Regions from separate parts of the Homo sapiens genome. Here regions 1, 2, 3, 4, 6 and 7 are each linked to region 5. The links are contacts of gene promoters, found by promoter capture Hi-C in blood cells and fetal thymus (Javierre and others, 2016). All regions are on one chromosome and are shown on one strand. The core of a region is centred on a gene start or on the middle of the fragment in contact, and the rest is flanking DNA. Distances in the headings are between cores, read along the strand shown.

Region 1 (2,700 bases), core at 43-2,542, 630 kb before region 5:
TTCAGGTTAGTCAGGATTAAGGCACCCAAATGGTGCTTTCTCCTCATCTCTTGGCTCTGCACTTTTCCCATCTGCACTTCATTCTCAAGAAATCCCTTGCCATGTTTCAGAAAGATGGCTAGCAGCAGTCTAGGTTTAAGTTCCATCACCTTAGCTATCCTAACAAAAAATGCTTTTCTTTTCTAATAGTTTCAGAGAAAAAGAAAAAGTTCCTTGCCTAATACTCAATGATATGGATTGGTTCACATCCATATCACTGAACCAATTTATGTGGCCAGGAATGTTGACTGCCTCCAGATCCACAGGACAGAATTAGGCCCACTCAGCTGAGATGGCGCCACTGCACTCCAGCCTGGGCGATAGAGTGAGACTCCATCTTAAAAAAAAAAAAGAATTAGGCCCACTCAATCCACATGAACCAGGGTTTCAGGAAAAGAGGCTCTCCAAAGCAAAACGAAAGGAAATGAGTGTTTAATAGAAAATGCACCAGCAACTCTTCAGTCCCTACCATGCAGTGTCTGTCGTATAACTTTTGCCTAATAAATATTAGCTGAATGAATAAAGCAAATCAAGCACAGTTGCTGTCACAAGAGCAGGTGATGAAAAGGAAGAGGATGATGGAGCCGCTTGCTTGAATGAAGGAACTTGGTCTTGAATCCCATTTCCATCATTTACCACCTGGGCACTATAGGTAAGTTACTTAAATACCTTGATCTTCAGTTTTTTTTTCACCTATTGAATTGTGATACTGATCCCTAACCACCAGGGATTTTGTGAGACACATGTATTAACAAATATAAAGCGTCTACATTTGGGTTGGCAGAGAACAAGCCCACAAAAGTTTTTCATTCTTTCCTTTCTCCTTCTACTTCCCAACTTCGGCACTGCCTATGAGTCAATTCTTCCCGCTTTGTGTTTTGAGATGGGAGCTACATTTGTTTGGATTCTGGAGCACTATTTCCCCAATGTTTTTCTATGGAAATCTGAACAACTGCCAATCAGACAGGTAAAACGAGAGAGAGAGGGAGAGACAGAGAGAGACAGAGAGAGAAAGGAGAGGGAAGAGGACTGAATTTGAGAAAAAAATGGGGGAAATCAGTTATGAGTCAGGTGAGGTTGATAGATATACCACATGCTCTCCTTTCTACACCACCCAGAGGAAGCTTGAGCCAATAATATCCTTTCTATTCAGCTCACACCTGCTTCTCAGGGAGCTGCAGTGCAGTTAGCACAATGAACTTGGCTGTATTGTTCTGTGCTATTTCCTCCTGCCCTAGCCTGAAACCGCATTTCAATCAATTGCTAATGTCAGCGTGGGAGTCATAATCCTGGTTTAGAGCTGCTGCAAGTTACCACATCTCCATGGGTCAGAAAAGGAGTTTGACTGTTGAAGGGTGTATACCTGAGAGACACAAAGCTTTCTGTTTCCTCCCAGGCAATGAGCTACAGCAAGATCCAACCCAATCAGTCTCATAAAATACCTTCCTTCTTGCCAGGGAAGAAGTTAACTCTGCAGCTAGGACCTCTGCCAGGTTATCAAGATATCTGGAAATTAATGTACCCCCAATTCTTGTTACCTTTCTTTGCATAGAAATCTAGCCTAACATCCACACCTTACAGAGGTATGTCTAAAACTGAAATGGCTTTTTAAAATTTGAATTTTGAGGTTGCATCAAGCATGGAATATGTATTTCTATGCCACATTATCGAACATGTCACCATGAAAATAGTTAGTGGTATGATAAAGAGCTCCAAGGAGAGCTCTGAATGATGTTTGGAGACAGTACGAATGAAGATCTAATTCCCAAGTGACATGGCATTACCATACCCATGAGATGTGTCAAAGTGCATCAGCATTTTCAGTGTGATATTATGTGCTTGTCAGTTAGTTTCAGTTTTATCTCTAGTGATAGTCAATTATCCTAATCAAAAATGCAGATCCCAGGGGTGCTGGGTTGGCACTAATCACAGAGTGCCAGACTGCAGGGGCAGCTGCCACAAGCTCATCTCTTACCTCTATCTTGATCGTGGCTTTTCTAGTCAGTAAACTGAATGTGAGAAATATTGGTGAAAGCAAGTGGCTTGTTGACAAGCAAGGTGAGTACCAGAAATGGGCAAAATTGAAGACTATAGATATATTAGATACATTCCCAATCATACATAAACAGAGAATTTGAATTCATTGAGTATAAATAGAGGGCTCAGTTGCTAAGTGATGCTGTATCCAGCCATTAGTTTTAGAGGATACCTGAGCCCAATTCCAGAAGAAAAGATCTCTGGAATGTTATGTCTCCCTGAAATGAACTAACATGCAAGTAGTGGTTGGGGCACCTACAAGAACAGAGAGCTGGAATGTCATCAAATTTATAGACAAGTTTTATGAACTGCTTTTATAAATTAATGTCCACATGTGTGATGAAATTTGGTTTAAGGCCTGATTTTATTATATAGCCTGGCAGTGAAGTTGTGGGAGAGTAACTAACACTCACTTACCTCGAACTCTTTTTAGTGGCTGCCACCATCTACCCAAATAACCTAAAGTAGGGCATAATTAATTTAGTTCAGTTAATAACACATGGTTTTTAGGAAATGTGTGCCATTTTTATTTTTCACCCATCTTCATTTGATTGCATCAGCTATTCCTGAGTCTTAGAATATTAATTCAGTAGTACAGTTGGCCTAGACATTATAACGATTAGG
Region 2 (2,822 bases), core at 85-2,584, 590 kb before region 5:
CCCAGAAATTGTTACAAATAGAAGGGAATCTGACTTTGAGCTATGAGTTGTTGCTTCCCCATGACTGAATTCCCCAAGAACTGAGTTATTACTGACCTGTGATTTGCTCATCATAAGGTCTCACTGTTAATTACTGCTCTCTGCTCCGCAGAAACTTTGAATTCCACCAAAGGGTGTGCCGAAGGCTTAGATGTTGAGAAGCGTGAATTCATCCTGCACAACAAATATCATAGAGATGGGACTGGAGCGGGGGACAAGAAGGGGGAGAATGAACAAGATGCATGTTGCAAAACCCCAAGGGGTGCTATTTGTATGGTAGCCTGAGTGAACAGCAATTTCCCTGAGGGGTGGTTGCAGCAGATACTGTGGGTACCATCTCTACATCTCTTACTCCTTACTCGTTCCTGCCTTACTCCTTCAGGGCAGAGCAGCCCAACTTACTCTTTGCCTAAGGACAGTCTCTGGTATCTAAGTCTAGGTTAGCCACTCATGGCAGGCCAGATGAATGATTGCTAGGAGTCTTGCATATACACCCGGTTTCCTTGCCACTTGGATAGGATAAAGGTGCTTCACCCCATTTTCCAGCAGTCTCCAGCAAGTCTAGGTTCCACTTGCTCACAGCAGTAGCTGATTTTGTGAAACATCCTTTCTGGGCTGCCTTCCTTTCTCTCTCTCCCTTTCCCTCTCCCATCTCTGATTTTCTTCTACTTCCCCCAATATATTAATATTATCTCAGGGATGGCTTTTGGGAACCCCAATCAAAGAAAGGAGCAAACTCAATTAAGACCCTCTGTTTTAGGTAACTTTGGGAACCTGGTGGAGCATCCTGACATTACATCCTGAACCAGAGTATGTCTCAAGATATTTTTGGATCCTGCTTTTGTGGAGACAGAATCCACAACACAGCAGAGAGTTCCTCACTCCAAGAGGTACATTCTTCTTACTGTCTGGTTCACTCCCTAGACACATGCCAGCTTGACCATCATACAGAGCAGCCCCCAGGATGAAGGCAAACTTCTATCTGGAGTCTGATCTTTCCAAGATAGGGCTGAATCAACTTAGCTCTTTTTTCTTGTGGCTCATTGCTGCTTTCCAGATTGAGAATAGCCTCAGATTTCTTTCTGGCTTCCATATACCATGCATCCTATTGCTTTGCTTATACTCTTACCCCCCAATGTCAAAATAGTCCTGAAGTGTATACCAGATCATGTCACACATATGCAGAACTGATCATGTCAGTTCAACCTTGGCTCCAAGAATAAAGCTGTAAGTCCTATAACCACAAGGCCTTAGGGTGACTTGATTCCTGAAGGCTACTCCAATATCATTTCTTCTCATTTTCCTCATCACACCTTGCCTTTCTTTGAACGTGGTGACATATTCCTGCTGCAGAATTTTGCATTGGCTGTTTCCTCTATCTGGTGCACTCTTTTTATTGAAGGTGCACTCTTACCTAACCTAACTCATGCTTTTGTGCAAATGTCACCATCTCAGACAGGCCTTTGCTAACCATCCCAGCACCCCTTTAATTTATTATTGCTTACTTTAATTGTTTCTCTTTATAGCTGTCAGCACCAACTGACATTATATGTACTCGTTTGGCTGGTTTTTGTTAGTCTTTCCATGACAATGTAAGCGCCACTGGCTCATCACTAACATCATGTGCCTGGCACACAGAAAGTACTCAATTAATATTTATATGGTTGCTGAATTAATATATGGTGTTACCTTTAAAGAGAAGCGAAGTAATCTGTAAATGCTTTTACTAAAATAATCATTTACCTGCAGACTAGGTATTTTAAAATATAGTCTATTTCCTGTTATAGATTGATTTATTTTTAAAGTATTGTCTCCTTACTCTTTAAAGATACATTTTCCCTGTTTTCCAAATTAGTTATTTTTTCTTTTTGATTATTCATTCCCAAGTTAGGAGAATGTCTAAAACTTGAGATGTACTGACTGACAAATTAACTAACAAAGAACAGAAATATATACCTCAAATTGCACTGCTATCATCTATGATCATTTATTTATTCAGCAGATATTAATTGAGCGTTTACTATATCTCAGACACCGCTGTACATATTCAGAGAATACAACAGCCAAAGATTTCTCACCTCAAAGAACTTATACAGAAAAGACACGCAATAAAATGTAAACATGATAAATGAATTATTTTATTTTATTTTATTTTATTTTTGAGACAGAGTTTTGCACTTGTTGCCCAGGCTGGAGTGCAATGGCGTGATCTCGGCTCACCGCAACCTCTGCCTCCCGGGTTCAAGCGATTCTCCTGCCTCAGCCTCCCAAGTAGCTGGGATCATAGGCATGCGCCACTATGCCCAGTTAATTTTTTGTATTTTTAGTAGAGATGGGGTTTCACCATGTTGGCCAGGTTGGTCTGAAACACCCGACCTCAGGTCATCAGCCCACCTCGGCCTCCCAAAGTGCTGGGATTACAGGCGGGAGCCACTGCACCTGACTGATAAATGAATTATTTAATGTGTTTGAAGGATACACTAGGGTGGTCAGGGGAGGCTTCACTAAGTTGACTTCTGGGCAGAGCTTGAATTAGTGAGTGTGAATGTGAAGCCATGTGCATACATGTGGGAGGAGCACTCTAGACAAAGAGCAAGGCCAAGGCAGAGGTTCTGAGGTGGGAGCATGCCAAGCTTGTTATAGAGGGCAAGCTGCAGGCTGCTGAGCAAGGAGGAAGAGGGGTAGGAGATGAAACCAAAGAAGAATCAGGAAAGCAGGCCATGTAGGCCCCTGGAAGCATTAAAAGGACCTTGATTTTCACATATGCCAATAATTGTTAAAAG
Region 3 (2,702 bases), core at 77-2,576, 550 kb before region 5:
TATATTAGTGATTTCTAAAATAGTTTTTTCTATAGGCACTTCTCATGCCAGAGTAATTACAAGATCAGAAAAAGTAAAACAGAATTTACCAGAACTCTTTTTATTAGTTTCCCATACAGTGCCAACTCTTAGATTAATTAGCAATCCAGATCTTCTGCAGTGTCGTTTGGGAATGTAATCTGAATGTTTAGTAGCCTGATCTTAAGGGAACTGACATGCAGGAGAAATTTCTCTGTCCTAATAATATATTTACCAAGACATTTAAAAGTGAATGATCCTACCATCATCTTATGCCCATTGAATCAAGTCACAGATTCCTGGTTTTAAATCCTAGGTTTATCTCTTAATAGTTGCATAATCTTGGTCAACCTACTTGACTACTCTGTGCTTCAGTCTCCTTATCTGTAAAATGGGGCTCTAATACCTATTTTATAGAATTTGCTGTGAGAATGGAATGAATTCTTGTATGCCTGGTGCTTGGCACATTGTAAGTGCTATGTTAAAAGGTTACCATTTACTATTACTGCTTGCTAGTGTGAACTGAAACCTCTTTCCTTCCCCCACAAACTTATTGTAAAATCAAGATAAAACCTTTATCATGGACATCATTTCTCTCTCCCTTTGGCTGATACTTCTGGTCCTTTCTATGCCATCATAGCAGCAACATATCAAGAGATGAGGGTTCAGCCTGATTATTATAGGAAAGAGATCTTCAATAAATCAGAAATTATTTATGGCCAAGAACAATTTCATTAACAGAAGCAGAATGACTGGGACCACCTAAAGGTTTGTTTTGGTTGCTCCAGATCTTTGGTTTTCAAATATCTCTCAAGTATTTTTATTTTTAAACATCAGAACCTGTGAAACTCATCACATATTTTATGGTGAAGGAAGTCTAACCTTCCTGCGTTATATTAGTCTACCCTTATTTGTAGATTAGACAAGGCCTAAGTAGATGAAATCCCTCTGGTGGCTGAAAAGCTGCTTGGTGGCAAAGCCACGAAGGTGCTCAGAGGCTGGTTAGTTAGAAGCCAAACTTGAATGTGCAGAGTTTCAAAAGAAATGGCTACAAGAGATCGTTTCACATCATGGGACCCCTCACTTTCATGAAAGAGATGAGATGAATCAGGGAGTAGAAAGGGAGCGACCAGTGAAAAGAATTATTTGTGGAGAGCCATGGGGTTGTGAGTTCCCCACCAACCTCCAGGCTGGTCACAGCACCTCTGATTGCTGCTTCTTTCCTCTGCCTGTGGTTCTCTCATTCTCCAGCCATTATCATCATTATCATCAGTGAAGGTGCATCCAGTTCATCACTGACTTGGGCACCCCACTCTGTTTGTTCAGATTCACACCATGTTCTTGGCACCCTTTACAATTGTGTCTAAACAAATGCAAAGTAGTCCTCAGTTCTGCTTCCTTTTTCTTCTTTTGTGGGTGCCCTCTGTCTCCACAAAGTCTGACAGCATTTCTTCAGAGTTTCCTAATGCCACTTCTTTCTGCCTTCTAACTACATATAATACCTTTTCTTTGATACGACACAATAGACGCCCACTCTAAATTTCATTTTTGATCAATTCTTATCACTCAACACTTTCCACATGCAAAATCCCTTCCACCGTAGCCTCTCCTGTATGTCTTAAATGTCACATATTTTTTTTTTATGCAATGCAAATCCCTGTCAGACTAAGCCATGAGTACTCTTTACGAAATTAGTTGCCCAAATCCTTCCCAAGCAATTGTTGAATAATAGCTTTAATTTGGGGCAGCACATGGATGTCTGGGCATGTGTTGGGATGGTAAAGAGGACAGATGAGGAAACAATTGGTCTATTATTTGGGGGATGACCTTGAAACACTATATCAGGTAGAAAGCTCGGAATTCAGCGGCAATATAAATGTACTGGACTTCTAGGGGAGGGTGGAGAGAGAGAGGAGATTCCTGAAAGGTAAAATCAGTACTTGAATAAAGATCTTCACTTATATCAGGACAATGCCGGATCTCAAAGTGTCTCCTTACATGGTCCACTACTGAGCTATTATTGACTCCTCCTCTTATCACTGACTGTGAGTACAGCCAAGAGCCCCTTTCTACCCATATGGAAAAAGGGAGATCATTACTCCTAACTAATAATATGGAAGAGAATAGAAAAAAATAAATAAACACAGAACAAAAACCAAAGTGAGCTTCCTTGAAGGTTAATTGAAACCTGTCTCCCGGGAGTAAAGTAGCTATTATTGATTGAGCCCTGAGATTTGATAGTATTTTGAATTAACTTGATTCCAATAAAGATAGAAGCCTTGATCCCGCTATCTTCAAATGCAGTTGCACCTGGAAGGTGCATTCACTTTGGATGTTACCTTCTTTTTCTGAGAACACTGTGTTGTGCAGATGTAATTTGGAATTAAAGTCTTCATCAATATAAAATCTGGCTGGCCCAGACAGACAGCAATCTTGGACACTGAATCAATTAATCACTGGGTTTTAATGGATAACTTCTTTCCCAGAGCTGAGGCCTAGTGGAATCGTATGTAAGAAATTAAATAACACAGCTAGGTGAGGAGATGAATTTAAAAAGCAGAACAGAAGATATCTAGGAAATGTCTTTCAAAGTCCCTTCATCTCTCTTCCCTATCTTTCTAGGAACTCTTCCTGTGCCTACTAATCATGCCTAGGACGTGATTCCCTCATCTACCCACAATTGC
Region 4 (2,700 bases), core at 21-2,520, 570 kb before region 5:
TGTAGCACAATTTCAAAAGCAAGATTATGTGACAATGGGGTCTGCATCCCCTCCCCTAGCATGCCTGGCCACAGGGCTGCCTGCCTAAGCTTATCCACAGCTGTTGCCCAGCCAAGAGCTGTGGAGACGCAGCCCTACCCTGCCCCACCCGGGAGCCAAACCTTGGTGGCATGAGCTCTTCATCAATCTCCATTTCTCCCACCAAACAAGAGTCACTAAAACCTCATTTGTGCCTCTCGGCCACTCGGGGATCTGCTCAAACTTTTCTGTTCTTTGGAGGAGAATGATGTGGACTTAATTAAGTGTGGTAACTTATGTGTAAGGCTGTATTGATGGAGGAAATGGGGTGCAGATGTGGTGTGAAATGATGGCGAATTACTCTTGTGAAGAACACAAATCAGGGTGAGTGCCCATTATCTCAGGCCAAAAGAAGTTATTGGGCACTCAATTATCGGCTTCTTTGTCACCGTAGCACACCAGATGGTTACAACACTGAAGAGTTTTCTATTATCATAACATTTTCCTAGAGTGTCTTTTCTTCTTCTCCAATTCACCATAAGATGATTACCTTCTTACGGGCAGCTGATTGTTGAGAAGGGTGCTGGGGGGTCATGCACAGATTTAGTGGGGAGTGGCAGATAAAGAGACAACAGGCTGTGTCTTTAGCACGAGAGTCTGTTGATGGACTCTGCTGGGATTCCGGCCACCCCATAATAGCTCATGTGAAATGACTGCTTGGTCCCCTCTCCCTCTGAATCTGCCACTCCCCCTCTGCCCCCAAATCTAGAAGACACAGTGTTCAAATGTGACCGGCTGCTCTACCTTCTGTCAAAGCATTTCCAGCCAAGTGAGCAGTTTTCTTTTAAGGAACTGAGTGGCCCTCAATAAAATTAATTCCCACTCATTGGCAGCATTGAGGCGCCAGGTGAGGACAAAAGTAAATGAGCTTGTGAATATAGGGCTAGTCATTAACTCAGGGCACCCAACTCTATCATCTGCCCCTCCCTCCCTGGCTCCAGAGAAGGGAGAAAAACAACAGCTTCATGGTAAATAAATAAATGAAACCACACCATGAAAACCTCTGAAACAGCAAGCCCTGACTGGATGCTTACCGAACTTGGGATGACTGGAATGACCCTGGGCCCTGAAGAATCTTCTTTATAAGAGAAAAGACAAAATGAGGACATGTCAAAATCACAATTTAATGCTTTGCTCATTGCTGGATTACTGTTTGGAAAAAACGACTTTCCACAGAAGTCAAGGTGATGCTTCTAAACATGGATTCCAGATTGGCCGACTCTAGAACTCATAAGAAGATGGGAGGATTCTTTCCCCACCCAGCCCCACTACCTGAGCCTATGCCCTAGGTTCTCATTGTCTCTCTTTTAATGCCTCTTCTCTCAATAGAGTTGTAATATGGGATAGCTCAGATTCTACGCATGAAGAGTAAAAGACCCTCTTGACCTTTTTCTGTAGTGAACTGTTGTCTCTGAAGTTAACTGTTGTTATGGTTGCATCTGTTTGCTAAACATAATGATGGTACTACAAGGAGTATTGCCTTTGTGACTTTCTTGCTTAAGACAAAAGCATAGCCCTGGTGGTGTCTGCTGGAAACCCGATCATGTGGTTTTCAAGGCTGGCACCCACATCCTACTTTGGGGTTAGCCAAATAAAACTATATTTTGGTTTGGTATTGCTAGTGCTGAGGAAATGGCGGGTATGATCTCTGGTTCAGAGTTTATGTTTACTTAAACTGCGGCTACCATGAGACACACGTCCATTTTCCATGAGTGAACAAAAGCCTCCCCTTCCTGCCCCCTCCCCTACTGCTTCCAAAGGGAACATTTTGCCCCTCTCATTTTTGTAGGTGTTTTCTTATTTAAAGCTACAGACTCCATAACGATGTGGGCTCATCCAAAGAAAAATCAAAATGATGCCAATTATAGCCTAGAAAGTCAACCCTGAACAAACACCCAAGGCTGCTTATTATCTACAGACACATAAAGCCACGAACATGCATTGAATAGATCCAATTTCAACCTTGTCTTTTCTTTAATAAGTGAAACAAGCTGTACCAGTAAGTAAATAATCAAGTGGTGATAATATCTGGTTTTCTAAGCATGCAGCAGAAAGATCCATTTTTCTTTAATAACAATAACCACAAAAGAGCTCATCAGAAACCCCCAAACCTGATTTTGGCTGCAACTAGAAAAGAATGTATGTACATGACCTCAGACCCAGTTACCACATGTTTATAGCCAAATGCTTCTTTTACTTAATTCCAAAGAGGAATCTAAATATCTTTCAAATATATTTTCATGTGACATACACAATCAAACCATATAATTTATCAAACAATGAGAGAAGTTAGTTCAAAAAAGACAAAATTAAAGAGAAGATAAGATTGTACTGCTCACTAATGCCAGATAAATTCTTGAGATTGAAGCTTGAGATGCATGCCATTCTTCTCTCTATTGTACCTATAATCTCTATTGTACATAAAGGCAACAGATTTTCAAAACTCTCAATGAGAGAAAAATGTTCTGTACCACTGGACAAGCTCATGACTTCCACTTCCAACAAGTGGTTATTGTCTTGAAGGTCATCCCTAAAAGTTATTTCCTAACTTTAGTAATGGGTAGAACAAGAGAATTGTTTGCTGCTGACACATGTTCAGAGTAGAGTCCCAGGAATACAAAG
Region 5 (2,700 bases), core at 6-2,505:
GAGAACTCAAGCCCCAAACCGGCCGCTGAATAGTCACGCTTTTCTGCAGGACATACCTACTATTAGGGCCAAAACTTTGTCCACCCTTCAAAGGAAGTCGATGTTTCCATATAAAGGTCCCCTCAAATGCAACAGCAAGCCCGTGGGAGAGGGGTTAGCAGAGGCTACGGCCAGCCCACGGGCTTTCTTCGACCTTGATTATGACCAGGAGTGTAGCTGTTAATTGCGAGGCTTGCCTCAAGGTGGAAAACAGTATCGGTTTCCACTGCCACCCCAGAGAAGGCAAGTTCCGCGGCTGGCGGTGCTGGGGACACGGTCCCTCCCAGGCCCATCTCTTGCCACCCAGAGAGCTGCTCGGAGGCCGCCTACAGGTGCAATCCCGGCACTGCGGCCGGGGCGTCGGGCCGGGGAGGGCGTCCAAGCCCACCAGCATCTCCGCCGGCCCTTCCCAAAGCCTGAACAGGGCCCCGGCGTGCCCGCCGCCTTCTACCCCCGGTTTCCCCGCGCCTCTGCCCCGGCGCGGTTTGGATAGGAAGCTGGGAGCCCTCCCAGGCTCCGCAGACTCGGATTTGGGAGGGGGTGGGACGCGGCCGAGGCTTCCCCTCGAATCTGCGGCAAGCCTGGCTCCAGGAAAGTTTTTCAAAGTTCCCAGCAGCGTCTGCCCAGGTCGCCTCCGCGGGGCGAGCAGACGGCGGCAAGCGCGCCAGCCTCGCCGCCGCCTCTGCCGCCAGCAGAGCGCTCTGGGCGGCTCGCTCGCGGGAAGCGGGCCGAACTCCCGGCGGGCAGGCAGGCCCTCCTCCCGGGGCGAAAGCCGCAGCTGACGCAGGCGGTTCGGAAGGCGGAAGCTGCCCCGCTCCGACCGCTCAGTCAGCGCCGCGGCGCCTACACCTGGGGCCCCGACGCGCGGGCAAAGGCGCACGGCCCGGGGCGCCCGAGGGGGCGGTCCCCGCTGGGGGCCTCCAGGCGTCCCTGAGCAACGATCCCTTCCAAGTACCTCCCCGCACTCTCCCTTCCCTCCTGGCCCGAAGCTCCCGAGGGCGGGGGTTGGTGTGGGGCCCTGGTTCTTCTACGCCGCCCTGAGCATCCCGCTGCCCCCAACCCCTTCCAAGTTCCTCCTCGCACTACCCCCTCCCCAGCAACGTGAAGGGGAGGGGCGTGCCCAGGGTGAGCACGCCCTCTCATGAATATTAATAAGCGCGCATGCGCCCTGCCCGGCGTGCTGGGTAGAGGTGGCCAGCCCCGGCCGCTGCTGCCAGACGGGCTCTCCGGGTCCTTCTCCGAGAGCCGGGCGGGCACGCGTCATTGTGTTACCTGCGGCCGGCCCGCGAGCTAGGCTGGTTTTTTTTTTTCTCCCCTCCCTCCCCCCTTTTTCCATGCAGCTGATCTAAAAGGGAATAAAAGGCTGCGCATAATCATAATAATAAAAGAAGGGGAGCGCGAGAGAAGGAAAGAAAGCCGGGAGGTGGAAGAGGAGGGGGAGCGTCTCAAAGAAGCGATCAGAATAATAAAAGGAGGCCGGGCTCTTTGCCTTCTGGAACGGGCCGCTCTTGAAAGGGCTTTTGAAAAGTGGTGTTGTTTTCCAGTCGTGCATGCTCCAATCGGCGGAGTATATTAGAGCCGGGACGCGGCGGCCGCAGGGGCAGCGGCGACGGCAGCACCGGCGGCAGCACCAGCGCGAACAGCAGCGGCGGCGTCCCGAGTGCCCGCGGCGCGCGGCGCAGCGATGCGTTCCCCACGGACGCGCGGCCGGTCCGGGCGCCCCCTAAGCCTCCTGCTCGCCCTGCTCTGTGCCCTGCGAGCCAAGGTAGGAGCCCTTCTCCGGGCCTCCCTCCCAGCCGTCCTCTCCCTCCCCTCGCGGCGCCCTGGGCGGTTGAGCCCCGCGAGCAGGCTCGGCAGCCCTCGAGCGCCCGACTCCTCGCCCCTGCGCCCGAGCGGCTGCACCTGGGCTGAGCGCGCCAACTCCCCCACGGGAGCCCCTGCCTCCTGAGGGTGACCCCTCCAGGCCGGACAGGGGCGCGTTCGCTCCGCTGTTGCCCCCCGGGAAGTCGTCGGATTTCTTCCGCACTCGTGCATTTTTTTTTTTTTTTGCCCCGGAATCATGTTGAGTCCTTGAACGTAGTTTCGCAAAATTATTTTCACTCGGCGAGGAGGGCTCGTCGGGGCGGGGAGTGGGAGGGAGTCGCCACCTCTATACTCGAAGAAAACAGCTTTCTCCCGCGCTGACCTACCTCCTTCCCTCGCCGGCAGGTGTGTGGGGCCTCGGGTCAGTTCGAGTTGGAGATCCTGTCCATGCAGAACGTGAACGGGGAGCTGCAGAACGGGAACTGCTGCGGCGGCGCCCGGAACCCGGGAGACCGCAAGTGCACCCGCGACGAGTGTGACACATACTTCAAAGTGTGCCTCAAGGAGTATCAGTCCCGCGTCACGGCCGGGGGGCCCTGCAGCTTCGGCTCAGGGTCCACGCCTGTCATCGGGGGCAACACCTTCAACCTCAAGGCCAGCCGCGGCAACGACCGCAACCGCATCGTGCTGCCTTTCAGTTTCGCCTGGCCGGTGAGTGACTACTCGGGAAGGAGGCCGGGCGGAGCCTCACACCCGCGCCTGGCCGAGCCCTGTTATCCCTTGCGAGAGGGATTTAAAGGGCTTTGGCTTGAAACTAGGCGCTAACTGGGGAAATCTCTAGGGGTGGCGGGTGAGGGA
Region 6 (2,706 bases), core at 54-2,553, 690 kb after region 5:
ATAATTGTAATTATATTTTAGATATGAAATGTATTATACTCTACATTTTAGATATTAAATTTAGATTTTAAAATGTATTATAGTAATCAATAGTGCATTTTTTAAACTTAAGATCCAGTTTTAGAAATCACTGGGTAGTTTTCCACATATTACATTAAATAATAATTTTTAATAGCCAGTAGAAAATGGCATTGCAATGGTTAATACAGTGTACTTAGCTTTATGCTTAAGTAATACACACATGCTCCAATTTAACAAAGAGATAAATTTGGCAGTAATTTTTCTCACTAAAGAAGCTTGTCCTCAACTAAAAGAACCAATGGAGAATTTCAGAATTGAACACCCTCAAGTATTACCTCAAATTCAACTCCCTAATTTCACAGTACTTCTAGAGAAGTAACAAAGGCAGGGAAAGAATCTAGATTTTTCTAACTGCAATTTTTAAAGATTGAAGGAAAGTAAATTCACATGCAACATTTAATAAAATCAAATGTAGAGTCAACATTTCTCAGGAACATTAAGTAAAACTAAATAAATATTAGTATTAATTGGAAAAAATATTGAGTTCAGTCTTTCATAATGAAGTACTCTTCATTATGAGGGAGAAAACTCTGTTCCTTTAAGAATTTGTTCCATCAAAAATGCCTGTAAAATTGTCAGAGGAGCAGACAGAAATGTAACATCCGTATTAATCAACTGTCCTTTTGAATACTTGTTTTTAAATATGCTCCACTGTGTGATTTTAAAAAGAGAGGAATATATCCCACTTTCACTTTCAGTTGTCTTAATTTCCCTTTAGATCATCCTTCCTTTGGCCAAAACTTTGTTTTCTACTGATACTTGCATACAATTGCCTATGCTAATAGATTAAATTTCCTCAGCCTTTAAGGTACCTGATGGTAAATTTTAATTAAAAATAACTTCTTTTAAAGAATAGATTTTGAAAGGAAAGATAGAAAAGATTAAAAGATAGGAAAAGAGGAAAGGGGAATTGAGGCATTAAGAAACATCATGAAATTGAAGGCCAGGCCCGGTGTCAGGAGCCTGTAGTCCCACCACTTCGGGATGCCAAAGCTGGAGAATCACTTGATTCCAGGAGTTTGAGACCAGCCTGGGAAACATAGTGAGATCCTGGTCTCTATAAAAAATAAAAAAATAAGCCGGGCATGGTGGCTCATGCTTGTAGTCCCAGCTACTCCGGAGGCTGAGGTGGGAAGATCACTGGAGTCCTCACTGCACTCTATCCTGGGAGACAGAGGGAGGCTGTCATTGAAAAAAAAAAAAAAGAATTCAAAAAAAAGAAAGCAATACAGAACAGTTGGGCTCAGAGAAGATTATAGCAAACTTCACCTACTCTACAGATTTGGATCTCCAGGTGCCTGGCTAGTGAGAGACCATGAGGGCATGAATTGGGATTGTGGCTTTTCATGTCCTTCCACATAAAAGCAAGTGTGATTTCAATTGTAGATTGATTTGTGGCTCAAGACTAAAAGGATCACAGAAATTCTTTTTATCAAGTTCAAGAACTTTGGGTTCTTATCATAGAACAGATTTATGTAAAAGTTTTTAGATCTGAACTAAGTGTGGTAGAGAACAGTGCTTTAAGATATAAAGTAGTTTGCTGACATATATTTTATTGATGGATGAGTTTTTTCTGAATATAAATCAGATCTTATTTTTGACTGCCAAAAATCACGTTTAACTCTTCACCCTAAAGAGCTCCCAAAATATACTTCCAATTATTTAAGATGCATTTTAAACCAGTAGCAATGAAGACTTGAGTCAATTTTAAACTACTGCAGTTAACTCTTGCAGCTAAATCACCCATTTAATATCTCTTACTTTTCAGATCATCAAATCCCATAAGACTTACTATAAATCTTTTCACTTCCACCCCAAAATGACTTGGGCAGATACATTGTGAATTAAATGATGCTATAACTTGATTTATGTACATCTGGACTTTCAACCCAATGGCTTCCCAGAACTCAATCAATCTTTATGAAGTCCTGGTAACGTACTCCAAAAGAACTGCAATGCAGTGACTTATAAATGAAGCCTGGATTTTTGCCAATGTTACTAAATAAGGAGCTGTACGACCTGGCCCATGCTTTATAGCTGCTGAAGGAGGAGCAATTCCACTCTGGGCTCAGCAGCTCCCTGGGCTATGTTTCCTGCCCTCTCAAGTCAACTACCATGCCCTGAAATGACTTTTAATTTTTTTCACTGTGCCACTGCTGAGAAAAGTAGAAAAGAGTTTCAATGCTTAGACTCCTTGAATATTTCTTTTATAGAGTTAGTTGAAGCTTCTACAGCTTGCTTGTATTTTCACCCTATTAATTTATTCAGATAGGAGCCTCCTTATGCCTAATATAATGTAATTCAGTAAGTCTGATCATTGTATTATCATTCCCAATATTAGGGGACTCTCCATCCTTATAAAGGATTAAACTTTCCTTCCCCATTGACATCAGGCTTGCTTTGGCCAATGAAATGTGGTCAGAAATGTCAGAAGCCAGTTCTGAGCAAAAGCTCTAAGAACCACTCTGTGGTTTCACATCATTTTCTTCTCACAGCCAGGGGCCTGGTAGGTCCCAGGTAGGGGCTGCTCATTCAGCCCGCATGGGCTTGAGATAAAGAGCCTAAGTCAATCTGTGATTGACATGTAAAATGAGAAAGAAAGAAAACTGTTTCTTGTTGTAAGCT
Region 7 (2,700 bases), core at 9-2,508, 610 kb before region 5:
ATTATCAGTATGATGTGTTTTCAATATCTAATTTGTTAATTGAGGACAAAGTTTCATTTCTCTATTCATTGACATACAATATAAAGAGTAAAAGTATTATAAATTGAACAAATTTGTTCCCCAGAGTTCTAAATATTGATTGAGATACATTGTTCTTAAATTTAACATATCAAACTCTGTTTCAAACATCTTAGAAAAACAGTCTGGACACATCTCCAAAACCAGTGACTAAAGGCTAAAAACATTGATTTAAAATCGTTTACCTTCCCTGTGTGTAACTTCATTTTGCTTCTCTCTTAATATAAAATTTTACACTTAATCTAAAAAGTGAAGGCACTTTCTCCAACTATCTAACATTGCATTCCAAAGTAATATTTTTCCTGAGTGAATTTATTTTGTAGTGGCTAGATAGATAGGATAGAATAAATTTTGTTCTCCTTTTTGAGCAAATTTGATCTTAAATTAAATACATTTTTAGGCTTTTTGTAGGGTTTTCAAATAAAGTGAAATTAGATTGCTATATTAAATTATCTATTATGTCCTAGAAATCAAGTCATATTTATTTATAAATTCAGGTATATCCACGGGTTGCTGATTTATTGTATTCATTGGATTTGACCCTGAATGGATTGTAATTGTTAGTAATATATCAACTCATAGTTTCTACCATTAAAGGAAGTCAAATACATGCATGAAATATGCTAACTAGAATCCCCCAGACTCTTCGATGAATGATTCAGTGCATTGTAAGATGACCGGGAAAGCCTCTTAAGACACCAGATATGAAGGGGAAAACTTTTATGTAGGTATGCCTGTTGATATAATTAATCCTATTACTGTACAGTTATAATGACATCAGACATCAAAGATGAAATTGAGGGCATCATGAACTTTGAATTAATGCAATACAGAAAGGCTACTCAAGAAAGTGAATTTTGAATTGTTTTAAGGAAATTGATAGAAATGCTGCTAGTTTAAATTAATTTGAATAAAACAATAGTTTATGTAGATGACATATGTCCGAAATATCTACACAATCCCCCCTTCTGTTTTTCGCACTTCCTGATTGTATACCAAAAATGTGGGTACAAATGTTTCATGTCTGCCCCACGCGGTGTGAAACTTCAGCCTCATCTTCACATATGGCAACATTAAAGTAATGAATGATCTTTACTTCATTGCTTTCTACTCTTTAATTTATTTTTTCCACATTTTTCAGGTATAATTGATGAATAAGAATTGCATATATTTACAGTGTACAATGTGATAGTTTTGACACATTATACATTGCAAAATGATTGCCACCATCAATCTATTAATCTATCACCTGATTAACATATCTATCATGTCACCTCACATAGTTATCTTTGTGTGAGTGGTGAGAACATTTAGCTGTACTATCTTGGCAATTTTCAAGTACATAATATTTTATACATTATCATTACATTATTATTAACTATAGTCACCATGCTGTGCAATAGATCTCCAGAACTTATTTATGCTGCATAACTAAAATTTTGTACCCTTCGACCAACATTTGACCCCATCCCTCCTCCAGCCCCTGGCAACCATCGTTCTACTCTTCAACTTTTAAAAATTCCACATGTGAGATTAAGCAGTATTTGGCTTTCTGTGCCTGGCATCTTTTGTTAATAGTGTTCTCCATGTTTATCCATGTTGTCACAAATGTCAGAATTTCCTTCTCTTTAAAGGTTGAATAATATTATCCACTGCATGAATCTATTCACTTGTCTCTCAGTGAACACTTAGATTGAATTGTCATCTTGGTTATTGCAAATAATGCTGCAATGAACATGGGAGAGCAGGTATTTCCTCAACATAACGATTTCATTTGTGTTGGATATACACCCAGAATTGGATTGCTGGATCATATGGTAGTTCTATTTTTAATTTTTTGAGAAACTGCCATACTGTTTTCCATAACAGTTGTACTAATTTAGATTCCCACCAACAATGTGCAAGGGTTCCCTTTTCTCCACACTGTTGCCCAGGCTGGAGTGTGTTGGCACGATCTCGGCTCACTGCAGCCTCTACCTCCCATGTTCAAGCCATCCTCCTGTCTCAGCCTCTGGAGTAGTTGGGATTACAGATGTGTACCACCTCGCCTGGCTAATTTTTGTATTTTTAGTAGAGATGGGGTTTTGCCATGTTGGCCAGGCTGATCTCAGATTCCTGATCTCAGGTGATCCACCTGCCTTGGCCTCCCAAAGTGCTGGGATTACAGGCATGAGCCACTGCACCCAGCCTATTTTTTGTCTTTTTGATCATAGCCCTTCTAACAGTGTAAAGTCATATCTCACTGTGCATTTAATCTGAATTTCTCTGATGACTATTAAATCATATTGCACTCTTTTTCATATACCTGTTGGCCATTTGCTTGTCTTCTTCTAAGAAATATCTATTCAGGTCCTTTTTCCATCTTTTAATTGGGTTGTTTTCTTGGTATTAAATTGTTTGTGTTCCCCCTATATTTTGAAGATGAACCCTTATCCTATGTGTATTTTACAAATATTTTCTCCCATTTTGTAGATCATTTTGTTACTCTGCTAATTGCTTCCTTTGTTGTGGAGAAGCTTTTTGGTTTGATGCAGTTCTATTTGTTTATTTTTGCTTTTGTTGTATGCTTCACTGCTTGCCATTGGTTCAGTTTAATTCTCCATTAAGAAGATCTACAAATAT

Evidence for each region. Contacts are between HindIII fragments. The CHiCAGO score rates a contact against its expected background, and 5 or more counts as called.
Region 1: a fragment that was not itself captured here is called in contact with the fragment with the promoter of JAG1 in region 5 in 1 of 17 cell types (endothelial precursors); the score reaches 5.2 in endothelial precursors.
Region 2: a fragment that was not itself captured here is called in contact with the fragment with the promoter of JAG1 in region 5 in 4 of 17 cell types (M2 macrophages, M1 macrophages, endothelial precursors and 1 more); the score reaches 15.9 in M2 macrophages.
Region 3: a contact is called between a fragment that was not itself captured here and the fragment with the promoter of JAG1 in region 5, in 3 of 17 cell types (endothelial precursors, M1 macrophages and M0 macrophages). The highest score is 7.1, in endothelial precursors.
Region 4: a contact is called between a fragment that was not itself captured here and the fragment with the promoter of JAG1 in region 5, in 4 of 17 cell types (M1 macrophages, M0 macrophages, M2 macrophages and 1 more). The highest score is 6.7, in M1 macrophages.
Region 6: a fragment that was not itself captured here is called in contact with the fragment with the promoter of JAG1 in region 5 in 2 of 17 cell types (monocytes and M1 macrophages); the score reaches 7.6 in monocytes.
Region 7: a fragment that was not itself captured here is called in contact with the fragment with the promoter of JAG1 in region 5 in 4 of 17 cell types (endothelial precursors, M2 macrophages, M1 macrophages and 1 more); the score reaches 13.0 in endothelial precursors.

Annotation. Positions count from the first base shown.
Region 1 is chr20:11,304,141-11,306,840 of GRCh38, reverse strand. No RefSeq gene overlaps it. Among named protein-coding and RNA genes, the nearest start is that of LINC02871, 280 kb to the right of the region's middle. The HindIII fragment of the contact is 254 bases long and covers 1,166-1,419 here.
Region 2 is chr20:11,263,407-11,266,228 of GRCh38, reverse strand. LOC124904960 (a long non-coding RNA gene) reads right to left here and starts at 186. Exons shown (of 2, transcript XR_007067724.1): 1 at 97-186. The HindIII fragment of the contact is 2,680 bases long and covers 1-2,674 here.
Region 3 is chr20:11,223,892-11,226,593 of GRCh38, reverse strand. No RefSeq gene overlaps it. Among named protein-coding and RNA genes, the nearest start is that of LINC02871, 200 kb to the right of the region's middle. The HindIII fragment of the contact is 3,439 bases long and covers 1-2,702 here.
Region 4 is chr20:11,245,540-11,248,239 of GRCh38, reverse strand. No RefSeq gene overlaps it. Among named protein-coding and RNA genes, the nearest start is that of LINC02871, 220 kb to the right of the region's middle. The HindIII fragment of the contact is 2,357 bases long and covers 92-2,448 here.
Region 5 is chr20:10,672,554-10,675,253 of GRCh38, reverse strand. JAG1 (jagged canonical Notch ligand 1) reads left to right here and starts at 1,255. Exons shown (of 26, transcript NM_000214.3): 1 at 1,255-1,804; 2 at 2,248-2,553. The coding sequence starts at 1,724. RefSeq lists a silencer at 633-1,032. The HindIII fragment of the contact is 5,598 bases long and covers 1-2,700 here.
Region 6 is chr20:9,981,340-9,984,045 of GRCh38, reverse strand. No RefSeq gene overlaps it. Among named protein-coding and RNA genes, the nearest start is that of PARAL1, 3.6 kb to the left of the region's middle. The HindIII fragment of the contact is 2,010 bases long and covers 299-2,308 here.
Region 7 is chr20:11,282,628-11,285,327 of GRCh38, reverse strand. No RefSeq gene overlaps it. Among named protein-coding and RNA genes, the nearest start is that of LINC02871, 260 kb to the right of the region's middle. The HindIII fragment of the contact is 2,677 bases long and covers 1-2,596 here.